2 separate regions of the Homo sapiens genome follow, and region 2 is linked to region 1. Evidence: promoter capture Hi-C in 16 types of primary human blood cells and fetal thymus (Javierre and others, 2016). All regions are on one chromosome and are shown on one strand. Each heading gives the region's core, a stretch centred on a gene start or on the middle of the fragment in contact. The rest is flanking DNA. Distances are from core to core; before and after follow the strand shown.

The links. The method cuts DNA at HindIII sites, captures the fragments that hold promoters and counts their contacts. A CHiCAGO score of 5 or more calls a contact.
Region 2: the fragment with the promoter of ZFP3 here is called in contact with the fragment with the promoter of SPNS3 in region 1 in 1 of 17 cell types (neutrophils); the score reaches 5.0 in neutrophils.

What each region holds. Positions count from the first base shown.
Region 1 is chr17:4,429,031-4,436,861 of GRCh38, reverse strand. SPNS3 (SPNS lysolipid transporter 3, sphingosine-1-phosphate (putative)) reads right to left here and starts at 2,922. Exons shown (of 12, transcript NM_182538.5): 1 at 2,696-2,922. The coding sequence starts at 2,894. RefSeq lists an enhancer at 2,206-2,860. The HindIII fragment of the contact is 18,293 bases long and covers 1-3,199 here.
Region 2 is chr17:5,073,879-5,081,709 of GRCh38, reverse strand. It overlaps ZFP3 (ZFP3 zinc finger protein), which reads right to left and starts at 3,243. Exons shown (of 2, transcript NM_153018.3): 1 at 3,135-3,243. It overlaps ZFP3-DT (ZFP3 divergent transcript), which reads left to right and starts at 3,597. Exons shown (of 2, transcript NR_186458.1): 1 at 3,597-3,823; 2 at 5,770-6,032. RefSeq lists enhancers at 3,467-3,536, 2,904-3,775. The HindIII fragment of the contact is 11,376 bases long and covers 1-3,908 here.

The DNA of each region.
Region 1 (7,831 bases), core at 1,673-4,172:
TGCCCTTGGCCCACACTCCAACTCAGGCCTCCTCAGCTTTGGCCTGATCCACTACAGCAGCCTCTGAACTGACTCCCTGGCTCATTTTGCCTCCATCAGGGCCTCAAATCCAATTATATGGCTCCCCATTGCCCAAGGCAGAAAGTCCAAGCTCCCAGTCTGGCACCCAAGAAGCTCTGTTCTCACCCCATACACCCCTTTGGGGTTTTTTGTTTCATGTGTTTTGTTTTGCTTTGTTTTGGCTTTTTGTCTTTAGGGGTTTAGATAAGATCTTGCTCTGTCACTCAGGCTAGAGGGCTCACCGCAGCCTCAAGCAATCCTCCCGCTTCAGCCTCAAGCAATCCTCCTGCTTCAGCCTCAAGCAATCCTCCTGCTTCAGCCTCCCGAGAGGCTGAAGACATCACTGTCCCTGGCTAATTTTTTAAATTTTTTGTAGAGACAAGGTTTTTCTATGTTACCCAGGCTGGTCTCGAACTCCTGACCTCATGTGAGGAGAAGCTCCTGACCTCTGAGCTCCTCAAAGACGATGACCAGGTCTGGGGATGGCTCTGCAGCCCCTAGAGTTTCATGATTCCATAGCCACTCTCTGGCATGCTGAGCTGGTAACTGACAGATCGATGCCCAGGTCTCAGAGATGCCTGGCAGCTGCAGGCACCCTCCTGAGCTCCCAGCCCGGCCTGTGCCTCCCCCTTGTCTGGCCGCACCTCTCCGCCTCGCAGGACTGCCATCAACCAGCCTCTATCTCTGCCCCATGAGATGGTCATTCCTGAGTTCAGGAACTCCAAGTCCGATTTCCTCCCTGGGTCCACAGCAGCCAGCAGGGGGTCCTGCCCACAGTTAGTGCTCAGCCGGTCTTGAATGAATGAATGACAAGAAGAGAAGAGCAAGTGGAGCCTCAATCAGCTGTTGTTATTGTTGTTGTCTTTGTTTGAGACGGAGTCTCGCTCTGTCGCCCAGGCTGGAGTGCAGTGGCACGATCTCAGCTCACCGCAACCTCCGCCTCCCGGGTTCAAGCGACTGTCCTGCCTCAGCCTCCCGAGTAGCTGGGATTACAGGCGTGAGCCACCACGCCTGGCCCCTGATCAGTCTTGAATGAATGAATGAGTGAGTGAGTTAGTGAATGAGTGACAGAAGACAGAGCAGGTTGAGCCCTGAAGCCTGCAAGAAGGAAGGCAGGACGTGTGAGGTTTGCGAGCAGCCTGTTGTCCTAGAAACACAGCCAGCAGGAGCTATTCTTGTCTGGCCCAGGCTACCCTGTCCTCCACCTAGAACCTGGGGGCCTCTGCCTGGAAGTCCTGCCTGCTGTCCTCACCCACCCACCCCTCATTATGTCTCTGGCCCCACCCCCACTGTGCCCTCCCTTAATTTTTAAAAAATATTTATTTATTTATTTATTTTTTATTTTTTATTTTTTTTTTTTTGAGACAGAGCCTTGCTCTGTCGCCCAGACTGGAGTGCAATGGTGGGATCTTGGCTCAATGGTGGGATCTCGGCTCACTGCAACATCCACCTCCCAGGTTCAAGCAATTCTCTGCCTCAGCCTCCCCAGTAGCTGAGATTACAGGTGCCCGCTACCATGCTCGGCTAATTTTTGTAGTTTTAGTAGAGACGGGGTTTCACCATGTTGCCCAGGCTGGTCACAAAGTCCTCACTTCAAGTGATCCGCCCACCTTGGCCTCCCACAGTGCTGGGATTACAGGCCTGAGCCACCGCACCCAGCCCTAAAATATTTTTAATTTTTTAAATAGAGACAGAGTTTCGGCTGGGCGCAGGGGCTCATGCCTATAATCCCAACACTTTGGGAGGCCGAGGCAGGCGGATCACCTGAGGTCTGGAGTTCGAGACAGCCTGGCATACACGGCAAAACCCCGTCTCTACTAAAAATACAAAAACTAGCCTGGCATGGTGGTATGCGCCTGTAGTCCCAGCTACTCGGGAGGCTGAGATAGGAATCGCTTGAACCTGGGAGGCAGAAGTTGCAGTGAGCCGAGATCGCGCCACTGCACTCCAGCCTGGGCAACAGATTGAGACTCTGTCTCAAGAAAAAAAAAAAAGGCCGGGCACGGTGGCTCATGCCTGTAATCCCAGCACTTTGGGAGGCCGAGGCGGGTGGATCACCTGAGGTCAGGAGTTCGAGACCAGCCTGACTAGCATGGTAAAACCCCGTCCCTACTCCTCCTCTACTCAAAATACAAAAATTAGCCGGATGTGGTGGTGCACGCCTGTAATCCCAGCTACTCGGGAGGCTGAGGCAGGAGAATCACTTGAACCTGGGAGACAGAGGTTGCAGTGAGCTGAGATTGCGCCACTACACTCCAGCCTGGGCGACAGAGCGAGACTCTGTCTCAAAAAAAAAAATAAATAAATAGAGACAGAGTCTCACTATGTTGTCCAGGTTGGTCTCAAACTCCTGGGCTCAAGCAATCTTCCTGCCTCAGCCTCCCAAAGTGCTGGAATTACAAGCGGGAGCCACCATGCCCAGCCTGTGTCCCTTCTTAGTTGAGGCTGGATTGGGAACATCAGTTGGTCCTCCCCGATTCGAGCACAGCTGAAAACCACCTCTAGAGGTGAGAACACCAGAGATGGGCCCAGGAGCAGAAAGATGGGTGATGGCTGGAAGGCCACCATGGATCTGCAGCCCCTGGCTGGTGGGCACAGCAGCAGGTACTGCCCAGGGTAGCCATCCCCTCCTCACCTGCAATGATGAACCAGTTCATGTAATTCAGGAGGTTGATGTAGCAGAGGACGGCGGCAGCCACGTAGGCCCTCCACGGGGGCAGGCTCCAGGAGGTGGGCGTGATGGGAGGGGGACACTGCCTGCCTGGCCCTGGGGACTGGCCCTGCAGACCTCCTGGCCCAGGCTCAGGGCACTCCGCTGACATCCCCCCAGCCATGCCAGCCTGCAGCTCTTGGCCTGAGACTGGCGCCAGGATGAAGCAACATTAGCTCAGCACGAAGTCACTTCCTGTGGGGTCCCAGGCTCCAAACCTCAAAGCACCTGCCCTAACTGTTGGGCGTCTTATCGCAGGTTCCTCCTGACCCCACGGCAGCTTCACCAGTGCGATTTCCCCATCGTCAGCCTCTGAGACCTGCTACGGAGGACAAGGGCTCCTGGCACCCCCACCCTGGGGACTGGACAACTCTGTGGTCCCCTTGATCTAGCCTGCAGCTTCAGTGGCTGCAGTGAGGAAGGGAAGCTTCCAGGGCAGGAAATGAGATGAGCCTCCCAGAGTGCTGCTTGCTGTGAGATGGTCTAGCTGCCCGTACGGGACTGTGAACCAATGCCTTGAAGCCGGGGCAAATGAGGAAGGCTGGGCATTGGCCAGGACAGCAGCATTGCACTCGACTGCCAGGCAGGATGAGCACCTACCCAGGATCTAAGGTCCTTCCCGGAAAAACAAAGGTAGCAGAGGGGGCTGCCTACAAGAAGACAGCCTGTGTGCAAAACTCATCAGTGGGGGCTAAATCTGGGGGGAAGACTTCAGTGAGGGGGGAGGGTGTCAGCACGGTCACGAAGCATCTCTTGATAGATTGCTTATTAGTAACAAAAGGAAAAAGAGTAACTATACAGTAGAGGAATCAGACATCTTGACCAAGGGGTTAAAATAAATCACCTGTGAGAGGCAGGAGGGTGTCGTGTGCCTCCAGATGTGAAGGTCTTCGCAGGTCACAGCATCATCTATGTGGCATTCCAGCCAGGAAGGCACAACCGGAATCTCATCATGAGAAGACATCAGCCAGACGCGGTGGCTCGCACCTGTAATCCTAACACTGGGAGGCCAAGACAGGAGGATCATCCAAGCCCAGAAGTTTGTGACCAGCCTGGGCAACATGGTGAAACCCCATTGCTACAAAAATACCAAAAAAATAAAAAATTTTAAAAAAAAATAGCCGGGTGTAGTGGTGTGCGTCCACAGTCCCAGCTACTTGGGAGGCTGAGGTAGGAAGGATCGCCTTAGCCTGGGAAGTCGAGGCTGCAGTGAGCCATGTTCGTGCCACTGCACTCCAGGCTGGGTGACAAAGCAAGACCCCAACTCAAAAAAAAAAATTTTTTTTTTAATTTTTAAAATGAAAAAACATCAGACAAGCCCAAATTGAGAAACACTATTTCTTTAAAGGGACTGTATATTGAAAAATGTCAGAGTCATGAAAGACTAAGAAAGACTGAGGGAGCTAGGCGTGGTGGCTCACGCTTGTTATCCCAGCACTTTGGGAGGCCGAGGCAGGTGGATCACCTGAGGTCGGGAGTTCAAGATCAGCCTGACCAATGTGGAGAAACCCCGTCTCTACTAAAAATACAAAACTAACTAGGCATGGTGGCAGGTGCCTGTAATCTCAGCTACTCGGGAGGCTGAGGCAGGAGAATTGCTTGAACCCGGGAGGCACAGGTTGTGGTGAGCCAAGATCACGCCATTACACTCCAGCCTGGGCAACAAGAGCAAAACTCTGTCTCGAAAAAAAAAAAATATTCTGAGGGACTGTTTTGGATTAAAAGCAACAAAGAGACAAGATAGGCCAGGCGCGGTGGCTCATGCCTGTAATCCCAGCACTTTGGGAGGCCCAGGCGGGCGGATCACGAGGTCAGGAGTTCGAGACCAGTCTGGCCAACATAGTGAAACCCTGTCTCTACTAAAAATACACAAAAAAGTAGCTGGGTGTGGTGGTGTGCACCTGTAGTCCCAGCTACTCAGGAGGCTGAGGCAGGAGAATCATGTGAACCCGGGAGGCAGAGGTTGCAGTGAGCCAAGATCGTGCCACTGCACTCTAGCCTGGGTGACAGAACAAGACTCCGTCTCAAAAAAAAAAAAAAAAAAAAGAGAGACAAGACAATAAGACAATTAAGAGCAGTACAGGATCCCAACCTCGCTCCTGTACTGGATCAACTGATAAAACTGGATCAGGAAGAAATAGCATATCAGCATCTGTGAACTATGGTTATGTAAGTAAATAAGTAAATATCCTTATCTGAAGTATCTAGAGGTACAGGGCCATGATTTATGCCACTCATTCTCAAACGGTTCAGGAAAAAATATTAGATATGTATAGTAAGAAAACAAATGGGGCAAATATTAATAATAGATGAATCTGGGTAAAGATTATAAGAGTTTCTTTACGCTATATGATAAACTTTCTATAAGTTATAAATTATATCTAAACAAAAAGTTAAAGCATAAAATGACAAACCAATTTAAAAATGGGTGAAGAGCCGGGCATAGTGGCATGGACCTGTAGTCCCAGCTACTCTGGAGGCTGAGGTGGAAGGATCACTTAAGCCTGGGAGGTTGAGGCCACAGTGAGCTATAATCATGCCACTGTACTCCAGCTTGGGCAACAGAGTGAGATCCCATCTCTAAAGAAAAAAAACATCAGGGGGACAAAAATGGGCCAAGGAGTTGAACAGACATTTCTCTGAAGATATACAGGTGACCGACAAGCACATAAAAAGATGTTCAGGCTGGGCACAGTAGCTCACGCCTGCAATCCCAGCACTTTAGGAGGCTCAGGTGGGTGGATCACAAGGTTGGGAGTTCGAGACCAGCCTGGCCAACATAGTGAAACTCCATATCTACTAAAAATACAAAAATTAGCTGGGCGTGGTGGCATGTGTCTGTAATCCCAGCTATTTAGGAGGCTGAGGCAGGAGAACTGCTTGAACCCGGGTGGCAGAGGTTGCGGTGAGCTGAGATCACACCACTGCACTCTAGCCTGGGTGACAGAGCGAGACTTCATCTCGGGGGAAAAAAAAAAAAAGAAAGAAAAATGTTCAACATCACAAGTCATTAGGAAAATGGCAGATTGAAGCCACCATAAGATATCAGTTCGTACCCACTAAGACGGCTATAATTTTAAAAAGAGAGAGAGAGGAAATAACAAATGTTGGTGGAGAGATTGAAAGCCTCATGCATTGCTGGGAATGTGGAGTAAGGCAGCCGCAGTGGAACAAAGTTTGGCAGTTCCTCCAAAGGTTAAACATAAAATTACCATATGGCCCTGCAATTCCAATCCTAGGTATATATCCAAAAGAACTGAAAACAGGCCAGGTACAGTGGCTCACACCTGTAATCCCAGCACTTTGGGAGGCCGAGGCAGGTGGATCACGATGTCAGGAGTTCAAGACCAGCCTGGCGAAGACAGTGAAACCCTGTCTCTACTAAAACTACAAAAAAATTATCCAGGCACGGTGGCAGGCGCCTGTAATCCCAGCTACTCGGGAGGCTGAGGCAGGAGAATCACTTGAACCCAGGTGGCAGAGATTGCAGTGAGCCTACATTGCACCACTGCACTCCAGCCCGGGTGACAGAGTAAGACTCTGTCTCAAAAAAAAAAAAAAAAAAAAAAAGAATTGAAAACAAAGACTATTTTGAGCCTCTAATCTCAGCACTTTGGGAGGCCAAGGCAGACGGATCGCTTGAGGTCAAGAGTTCAAGGCTGGGCGCGGTGGCTCACACCTGTAATCCCAGCACTTTGGGAGGCTGAGGCAGGTAGATCACAAGGTCAGGAGATCGAGACCATCCTGGCTAACACGGTGAAACCCTACCTCTATTAAAAATACAAAAAGTTAGCTGCGCATGGTGGCGGGCGCCTGTAGTCCCAGCTGCTCAGGAGGCTGAGGCATGAGAATGGCATGAACCCAGGAGGCGGAGCTTACAGTGAGCCAAGATCACGCCACTGCACTCCAGCCTGGGCGACAGGGTGAGATTCCATCTCAAAAAAAAAAAAAAAAGAGTTTGAAATCAACCTGACCAACATGGTGAAACCCCGTCTTTACTAAAAAATCCAAAAAATTTAGCTGGGCATAGTGGCACACACCTGTAGTCCCAGCTACTCGGGAGGCTGAGGCATGACAATTGTTTGAACCCTGGAGGGAGAGGTTGCAATGAGCCAAGATGGGACCACTGTACTCTAGCTGGGGCAACAGAGCAACTTTGTCACTCTGTCTCAAAAAAAGAAAAAAAAAAAAGAAAAGAAAAGAAAACAAAGACTCAAACAAATACTTGTACATAAATGTTCATGGCAGCACTGTTCATAACAGCCAAAAGGTGGAAACAGCTTAAACGCCCATCTGATAAATGGGTCAAGAAAATGTGGCATAATCATACAATGGAATAGTATCCAGTCATAAAGAGGAAGGAAGTACTGATTCATGCTACAACACGGATAGACCTTAAAAACATTATGCTGGCTGGTCACAGTGGCTCACGCCTGTAATCCCAGCACTTTGGGAGCCCGAGGCAGACAGATCACCTGAGGTCAAGAGTTTGAGACCAGGCTGATCAACAAGGTGAGACTCCATCTCTACTAAAAATACAAAAATAATCCGGGTGTGGTGGCACCGCACTTGTAATCCCAGCTACTCAGAAGGCTGAGGCAGGACAATGGCTTGAACCTAGGAGGTGGAGGTTGCAGTGAGCCGAGATTGTGCCACTGCACTCCAGCCTGGGCGACAGAGTGAGACTCCGTCTCGGAAAAAAAAAAAAAGAAAACATTATGCTAAGTGAAAGACACCAGACACAAAAGGCCACATATTGTATGATTCCATTTATAGAAAATATCCTGCACAGGTATAGTCACAGAAACAGAAAGTAAATGGTTCCTAGAGGCTAAGAGGAGAGGAAAATGCTTAATGGGAAGACAGTCCCCTTGGAGAGTGATGAAAATGTTTCAAAACTAGATAGAGGAGATGGTGTCACAACACTCTGAATCCACTCAATGCCACTGAATTATATCCTTTAAAATGGTTACAATTTTAAGTAATGTAATTACCTCAATTTTTAAAAAACATTAAAGAAGCCGGGCTTGATGGCTCGTGCCTATAGTTTCAGCTACTTGA
Region 2 (7,831 bases), core at 1,994-4,493, 640 kb before region 1:
GAATGGCGTGAACCCGGGAGGCAGAGCTTGCAGTGAGCCAAGATCGCACCACTGCACTCCAGCCTGGGTGATAGAGCGAGACTCCGTCTCAAAAAATAAAATAAAATAAAATAAAATAAAATGAAGAAAAGAACAATTGTGAAAAAATGTGAGAGAAGAGAAACCTACAGGCCACAGGCCCATTCTTAAGCAGATCACTCATAGGCAAGGATACAAAATAAAGTCAAGGATCTAGAAGTTGATTTCCATTCAACAATCTATGTGCCCAAAGATGTTACAGAAAGTGTCTGTGTACCCCCTCCACATATTTCCATCTGAAGACCACTGCACTATAGCATTCCGGACAGAAAGTGGGCAAGCAAGAGGCCAGGAAGTACAGGAGGAGTAAGAAAAGAAACAGACATCACGGCTAACACGGTGAAACCCCACCTCTAGTAAAAATACAAAAATTAGCCAGGTGTGGTGGAAGGCACCTGTAGTCCCAGCTACTCGGGAGGCTGAGGCAGGAGAATGGTGTGAAGCCCGGGGCAGGCCGAGCTTGCAGTGAGCCAAAATTGTGCCACTGCACTCCAGTGCAGAGTGAGACTCCATCTCAAAAAAGAAAAAAAAAAAAAAAGAACAGAAACAGAAAAAACATTGGGATTTCAATGTAGCATGCACGGGGTGGGATAAATATGGAGGGGAGATGAGCCAGGCAGCACTGACATTTTGATGTGGAGGCTAATGATAAGCTCTCACCATGTGCTAAGCAACTTACAGACATTAACCCTTACCACCACCTCATGAAACAAGCAAGCTGGAGAGCATCAGAGTGAAGAGGGGCCAATCACCATGCTCTCCTGACTTCTTTCAGTGGCAGTTTTGGCAGCCTGAGAATCCAGGGAGATGTGTGGTGGAAGACTGAGGAGGCGAGGCCTAGGGAGGTTAGTCAGGACAGAGCTGAGATGACTAAGTGAGATACGGATGGAAATGAAGGGGGGCTGGGAGGAGTGGGGTGCTAAGAGATGGAGGTTACAGAGAGGGTGAAGGATGTGATGAGCACCTTCTTTGTGCTCCAAGGGAAGGTAACCAAGGGAAGGTATCTGGGAAACTGGGATGAGGTTTTATTTTGAAATGTCGAAATTTTAATACCTCAAAAATAATATCCTTTGAAACTCATTAAAATTTATGATGAGAAATGGAAATGTTTTGGATGTCAACTTGCAAATGTATAAAGAGACACAAACCTTCCAAAATTATTTTACGGGGTATGTGAGCAAAAATATTTGCAGTGGCTTTGCTTTCCTTGCCAGAGATCTAACCTCATCCAAGAGCTCCAGCAGGACACTCCAACTGAGTTAACCCAGTCAAATAAATGCCCTAATTCTTGCAAGGCACTGGTTCAGAAACAGCAAGGATTCGGGAATTCCTGGTTTGGAAATGGACATCCACCTTCATCTGGGTCAATATTTTGAGGACGTTTGCTGGGAGCTTCTGGGAATAGTTTCCTGCCATCCTGAGAGAACCATAGGAAAATACTTCCATATATTATTGCCTGTACCTGCTGCTGCCATCTCACTACCAGCCTGTGGATGAGGGCAGCTAAAGCTCAGAAAAACAAGGGAGATGCTGCCAGGGCCACTGGATTAATCAGTCCTGAAACCACGATACCTATTTTTTTTTTTTTCTTTGGAGATGGAGCCTCGCTCTGTCTCCCAGGCTGGAGTGCAATGGCGCAATCTTGGCTCACCGCAACCTCCGCCTCCCAGGCTCAGGCGATTCTCCCACCTCAGCCTCCCAAGCAGCTGGTATTACAGGCATCTGCCACCACGCCTGGCTAATTTTGTATTTCTAGTAGAGACAGGGTTTCACCATGTTGGCCAGGCTGGTCTCGAGCTCCTGACCTCAGGTGATCCGCCCACCTTTGCCTCCCAAAGTGCTGGGATTACAGGCATGAGCCATCACGCCCAGCTGACCCCCTCCATTTTCTTCCCTGACCCCCAGGCTCTAAGGCAGACAGCTACTCCTTCACCTTGTAGCAGCTACCCCACTGCATTATTAATTTTTCATACCTATTTTCTTCTCTAGACCATAAGCAAGGATGCTGTTCCATTCATCCTGGTATTCTGAGTACCTAGCATATTTCAGATACCTGGTAAATGTTAAGTGAATTTGTGTAACTGTCTTATATATATAATGAATCTGCAATACCTCCCTTTTTTCTGAGACAGGGTCTTGGCTCTATTGCCCAGACTCACTGCAGCTTCAACTTCCCAGGCTCAAGAAAATCCTCCCACCTCAGCCTCCCAAGTAGCTGGGACTACAAGCATGCGCCACCACACCCAACTACCCAACTAATTTCTTTGTTTTTTGTACAGATGGTGTCTCACTATGTTGCCCAGGCTGGTCTTGAACTCCTGTGCTCAAGTGATCCTCCCGCCTAGGCCTCCCAAAATGCTGGGATTACAGGCATGAGCCACTGCACCCAGCCTCTGTAATACTCTTGATGGCTAACTGGATATTTCATTCATCATTATATCTAAAGAGCCTAGGATAGTGTCTGACACATAGCTGGTGTCGATAACTGTTTGTAAAAATAAGTTCCTTTTCCCAATCTGGGTGATATTTAATTTATGGCACTGTTAACCTCCTTTCCTCTCTTCTCCCTCTGACCCACAATAGGGCTCTATCTTTGCAGCTCAAACCTGTCTCCTTTTCACGACCACCCCTCATAAGCCAATATCTTGTCTGGCAGCACAGGGCACAATCTGCCACTAGGGCGTTAAGTTTGTGACACTGCCCGCCATTTCGTCCTAGCGGTTTACTTGGGGGTGGAATGTCTGAGAAAACCACAGCTCCCACGGGTCCCCACCTCGGTACAGAAGGGAGTGTCCCTGCTTCTCCCACCCCCACGGCTGACAGGCACCAAACCAGAGCTGGGACTGTCCCTGGCGGTGTCCAGGCCCCACCCTCTCTGTGTGCAGGTGGAAATGAAGGCCTGGGGGCGGGGGGAATGGAGGGAGGCATAAACTTCAAGGTCACACAGCGAACCCCGGTCAGAACGGGCCTAAACGTAGGGTTTCCGCTCGGCTCTCTAGGGAGCTGGGAGCCCAGCCCCCGCCTACCCCCACAGCCGCGACGGAATGAGGTCTCACCGCAGGCCGCTACTGCCCCGCGCTCGCTCACTCCGCTGAGGCTCCGCGCTGCTGGGCCGCTCGCACAGAGCCCGCAGCTGTTGTCCCGGTGTCACTGGCGACGGGCATCGGCCACTTCCGGTACCCGGGCGGCACTCCAGCCAATCGGCGCGCGTCGCACTCCGCTGGAGGAACAGGTGGTCAGCGCACCGACGCCCCCTTGCCTTTTCCGGCTTGCTTTTCGCCGGTTCTAGCCCTAGCCCAAGTTCCACGTCGCCGCCGCCTGCCGAGCCGGCTCCCTGGAACAGCAAAGTGCACCCGTCGATGCCCACTTCAGCCCCGGAATCATTGACGACCTGAGTCCTCCGGGTTTCCTAGAACGGCTCCGGGGATGAACTTCCGCTCCGCGATCTGCCGCTCTGCGCCCTCGTGTCGCTCCCCAAGCATTGCTCTAGGCTCAAGAACTCGAGAATCCGCTTCGCATTCCCGCGGGGACCGTTTGCGCGACCCTTTTAACTCTCCCAACCCGCATCGTTCTTATCCCATCCTTCCTTTCCACAGACTCCGTGGGTCTGATAAGCACAGGGCTGCAGATCCTGGGAACAGGTCTCTCCTCGGCGGGAGCGAAGGGAGACATGCTTTGAGTTCCGGAAGGGCTTGCAGGAGTGACGTTTGGCCTGAAATCTCAAGATTGCGTGGGAATTACCAAGGTTAAGAGTAAAGGCCTAGGTTAAGCTGCCGAGGCCACGGAAACAGCATTCTGCAGCTAGCCTTCCTGGGTTCCCTGAGCAAGCTTGGCCCATTCTCACCTCAGAACCTTTCCTTGTTACTTCCTCTGTAATTTTGCACAGCCAGCTTGTTTTCTTGTTTGTTTGTTTTTTGAGATGGAGTTTCGCTCTTGTTGTCCAGGCTGGAGTGCGATGGCGCCATCTCCGCTCACCGCAACCTCCGCCTCCCGGATTCAAGCGATTCTCCTACTTCAGCCTCCCCGAGTAACTGGGATTACAAGCATGTGCCACCACGCCCGGCTAATTTTGTATTTTAGGTAGAGACGGGTTTTCTCCATTTTGGTCAGGCTGGTCTCGAACTCCCGACCTCAGGTGATCCGGCCGCCTCGGCCTCCCAAAGTGCTGGGATTACAGACATGAGCCACCGCGCCCGGCCTCCAGCTTGTTTTTGTTTGTTTTTTGAGGCGGAGTTTCGCTCTTGTCGCCAAGGCTGGAGTGCAATGGCACGATCTCTGCTCACTGCAACCTCCACCTCCCGGGTTCAAGCGATTCTCCAGCCTCAGCCTCCAGAGTAGCTGGGATTACAAGTGCCAGCCACCACGCCCGGCTAATTTTTGTATTTTTAGTAGAGACGGGGTTTCACCATGTTGGTCAGGCTGGTCTCGAACTTCTGACCTTAGGTCAGACCTTAGGCCCACCTTGGCCTCCCAAAGTGCTGGGATTACAGGCGTGAGCTACCGCGTCCAGCCAGCCAGTTTGTTTTTAGGTGTCAGTTCCAAGATCACCACATTGAAGACTTTCATTCTATATAATGTTGCCTCAGAGTACACTATCCTTCCCAAATATCAGTTACAAAGGACTATGATTAGCCCTGTTTGGGTCTGGTGCTCAACCATGGACCAATCAAGGGGGAAAGGACCGTGTGATTTACCAAGCCTGGTCACCTGCCTTCCCGCAAGGATGACGGCGGGCTTCTGTGTTTGCCTCACCATAATCCTATGAAATAGGGAAAGGAGTGACCACCCTTAGAAGGGAATATTGTGTTTGTATGCCACACACAATCTAGCAGAAAGAAAACTTTCTCTTGAATTCATCATTGCCATTAGGCCCTAGACTCTAGGGTCCATCACTTTAGCCACTCTGGTACTAAAATCCTTAACTCCCTTGCCCTACTGTCTGCAACTGCATGGGAAGTTTGTTAACTCTGATTCAATCAGAATATCTATTTTCCGGCCGGGCGTGGTGGCTCATGCATGTGATCCCAGTACTTTGGGAGGCTGAGGCAGACAGATCACAAGGTCAGGAGTTCGAAACCAGCCTGGCCAAAATGGTGAAACCCATCTCTATTAAAAGTACAAAAATTAGGGCCAGGTGCGGTGGCTCACACCTGTAATCCCAGCACTTTGGGAGGCGAAGGCGGGAGGATCACAAGGTCAGGAGTTCGAGACCAGCCTGGCCAATATGGTGAAACCCTGTCTCTACTAAAAATACAAAAATTAGCCAGGCATGGTGGTGCATGCCTGTAGTCCCAGCTACTCGAGAGGCTGAGGCAGAAGAATCACCTGAACCTGGGAGGCGGAGGTTACAGTGAGCTGAGATCACGCCACTGCACTCTCGCCTGGGCGACAGAGTAAGACTCCATCTCAAAAAAAAAAAAAAAAAACTACAAAAATTAGTCAGATGTGGTGGCTCGCACCCGTAATCCCAGCTACTCGGGAGGCTGAGGCAGGAGAATCGCTTGAACCTGGGAGGCAGAGGTTGCCGTGAGCCAAGATCACGCCACTGCACTCCAGCCTGGGCCACAGAGCGAGATTCTATGTCAAAAAAAAAAAAATCTGTTTTCCTTGCCCATGCGGCTAATGGTGAGTGGGAAAAATATATTTTGTTTAAGAGTCCTAAGGTAATCTTATGGTCTCTGCTTTCCACAGGCCCAGAAATCACTTTCTGTTTCCCTACTCAGCTTGTCTACCATTTTCCACGGTTGCCATTGCAACCTTCCTCACTCTGCTCAAAACTTTCTCCAAGCCGTGATCCAAGAAAAGTCCATTTCCATCAAAATCATTGCAAGCTACATTTATCCCAAGGAAAGACGCCCAGACTACAAAAATATCCTGCCGCAGAACCAAGGGTGGAAGATATTTGGTTTTACTGAGCTTTATCTAGTACACCTGCATTAATGGGTGTCTGCCTCAAGAGCCTAAATCGTGATTCTCAACCTTGACTGTGGGGAAAAGCAAGAGAGATCAGATTGTTACTGTGTCTGTGTAGAAAGAAGTAGACATAGGAGACTCCATTTTGTTCTGTACTAAGAAAAATTCTTCTGCCTTGAGATTCTGTTAATCTATAACCTTACCCCCAACCCCGTGCTCTCTGAAACATGTGCTGTGTCAACTCAGAGTTGAATGGATTAAGGGCGGTGCAAGATGTGCTTTGTTAAACAGATGCCTGAAGGCAGCATGCTCCTTAAGAGTCATCACCACTCCCTAATCTCAAGTACCCAGGGACACAAAAACTGCGGAAGGCCGCAGGGACCTCTGCCTAGGAAAGCCAGGTATTGTCCAAGGTTTCTCCCCATGTGGTAGTCTGAAATATGGCCTCGTGGGAAGGGAAAGACCTGACCATCCCCCAGCCCGACACCCGTAAAGGGTCTGTGCTGAGGAGGATTAGTATAAGAGGAAGGAATGCCTCTTGCAGTTGAGACAAGAGGAAGGCATCTGTCTCCTGCCTGTCCCTGGGCAATGGAATGTCTCGGTATAAAACCCGATTGTATGCTCCATCTACTGAGATAGGGAAAAACTGCCTTAGGGCTGGAGTGGGACCTGCGGGCAGCAATACTGCTTTGTAAAGCATTGAGATGTTTATGTGTATGCATATCTAAAAGCACAGCACTTAATCCTTTACATTGTCTATGATGCAAAGACCTTTGTTCACGTGTTTGTCTGCTGACCCTCTCCCCACAATTGTCTTGTGACCCTGACACATCCCCCTCTTCGAGAAACACCCACAAATGATCAATAAATACTAAGGGAACTCAGAGGCTGGCGGGATCCTCCATATGCTGAACGCTGGTTCCCTGGGTCCCCTTATTTCTTTCTCTATACTTTGTCTCTGTGTCTTTTTCTTTCCTAAGTCTCTCGTTCCACCTTACGAGAAACACCCACAGGTGTGGAGGGGCAACCCACCCCTACACTTGACTGCACATTGGAATCACCTGGGGTCTAAAATCATGGCTGTCTGGTGCCTCCCACATAGACTCTGTTGAAATTGATCTGAAAAAAGATCTGGACGTGGATTGTTTTGCTTTTAACTTTCCAGGTAATTCTGACCTACAGCCATGGTTGAAAACCAATAGCATAGGCCAATGGTTCTCAAAGTGTGGTCTCTAAACCAGCAGCATTAGCATCACCTGGGGACTTGTTAGAAATGAAAATTCTTAGGCCCCACCCACAGATCTTCTAAATCAGAAACTCTGGAGTTGGAGCTCAGAAATGTGTTGTGGCTTTTTTGTTTTGTTTTGTTTGGTTTGGTGGCTGTTGTTTTTTGAGATGGAGTCCACTCTGTCGCCCAGGCTGGGGTGCAGTGGTGCCATCTCAGCTCACCACAACCTCCGCCTCCTGGGTTCAAGTGATTCTCCTGCCTCAGCCTCCCGAGTAGCTGGGATTATAAGTATGCACCACCACACCTGGCTAATTTTTGTACTTTTAGTAGAGATGGGGTTTCACCGTATTGGCCAGGCTGGTCTTGATCTCCTGTCCTCAGGTGATCCACCTGCCTCGGCCTCCCAAAGTGCCAGGATTACAGGTGTGAGCCACCAAGCCCGGCCCAGAAATGTGTGTTTTAACAACACTTCATGGCTCTGATGCACAATAAAGTTTGAGAATCATTGGCCCCAGCTTTGGCAGTGCTTAATCTGACCTGCGCTTGTGTGTGAGTTAGGAAGGAAAAGGATAAGTTGTCTCCTCTCAGCCACTCCCCGGCTCACCGTTTGCT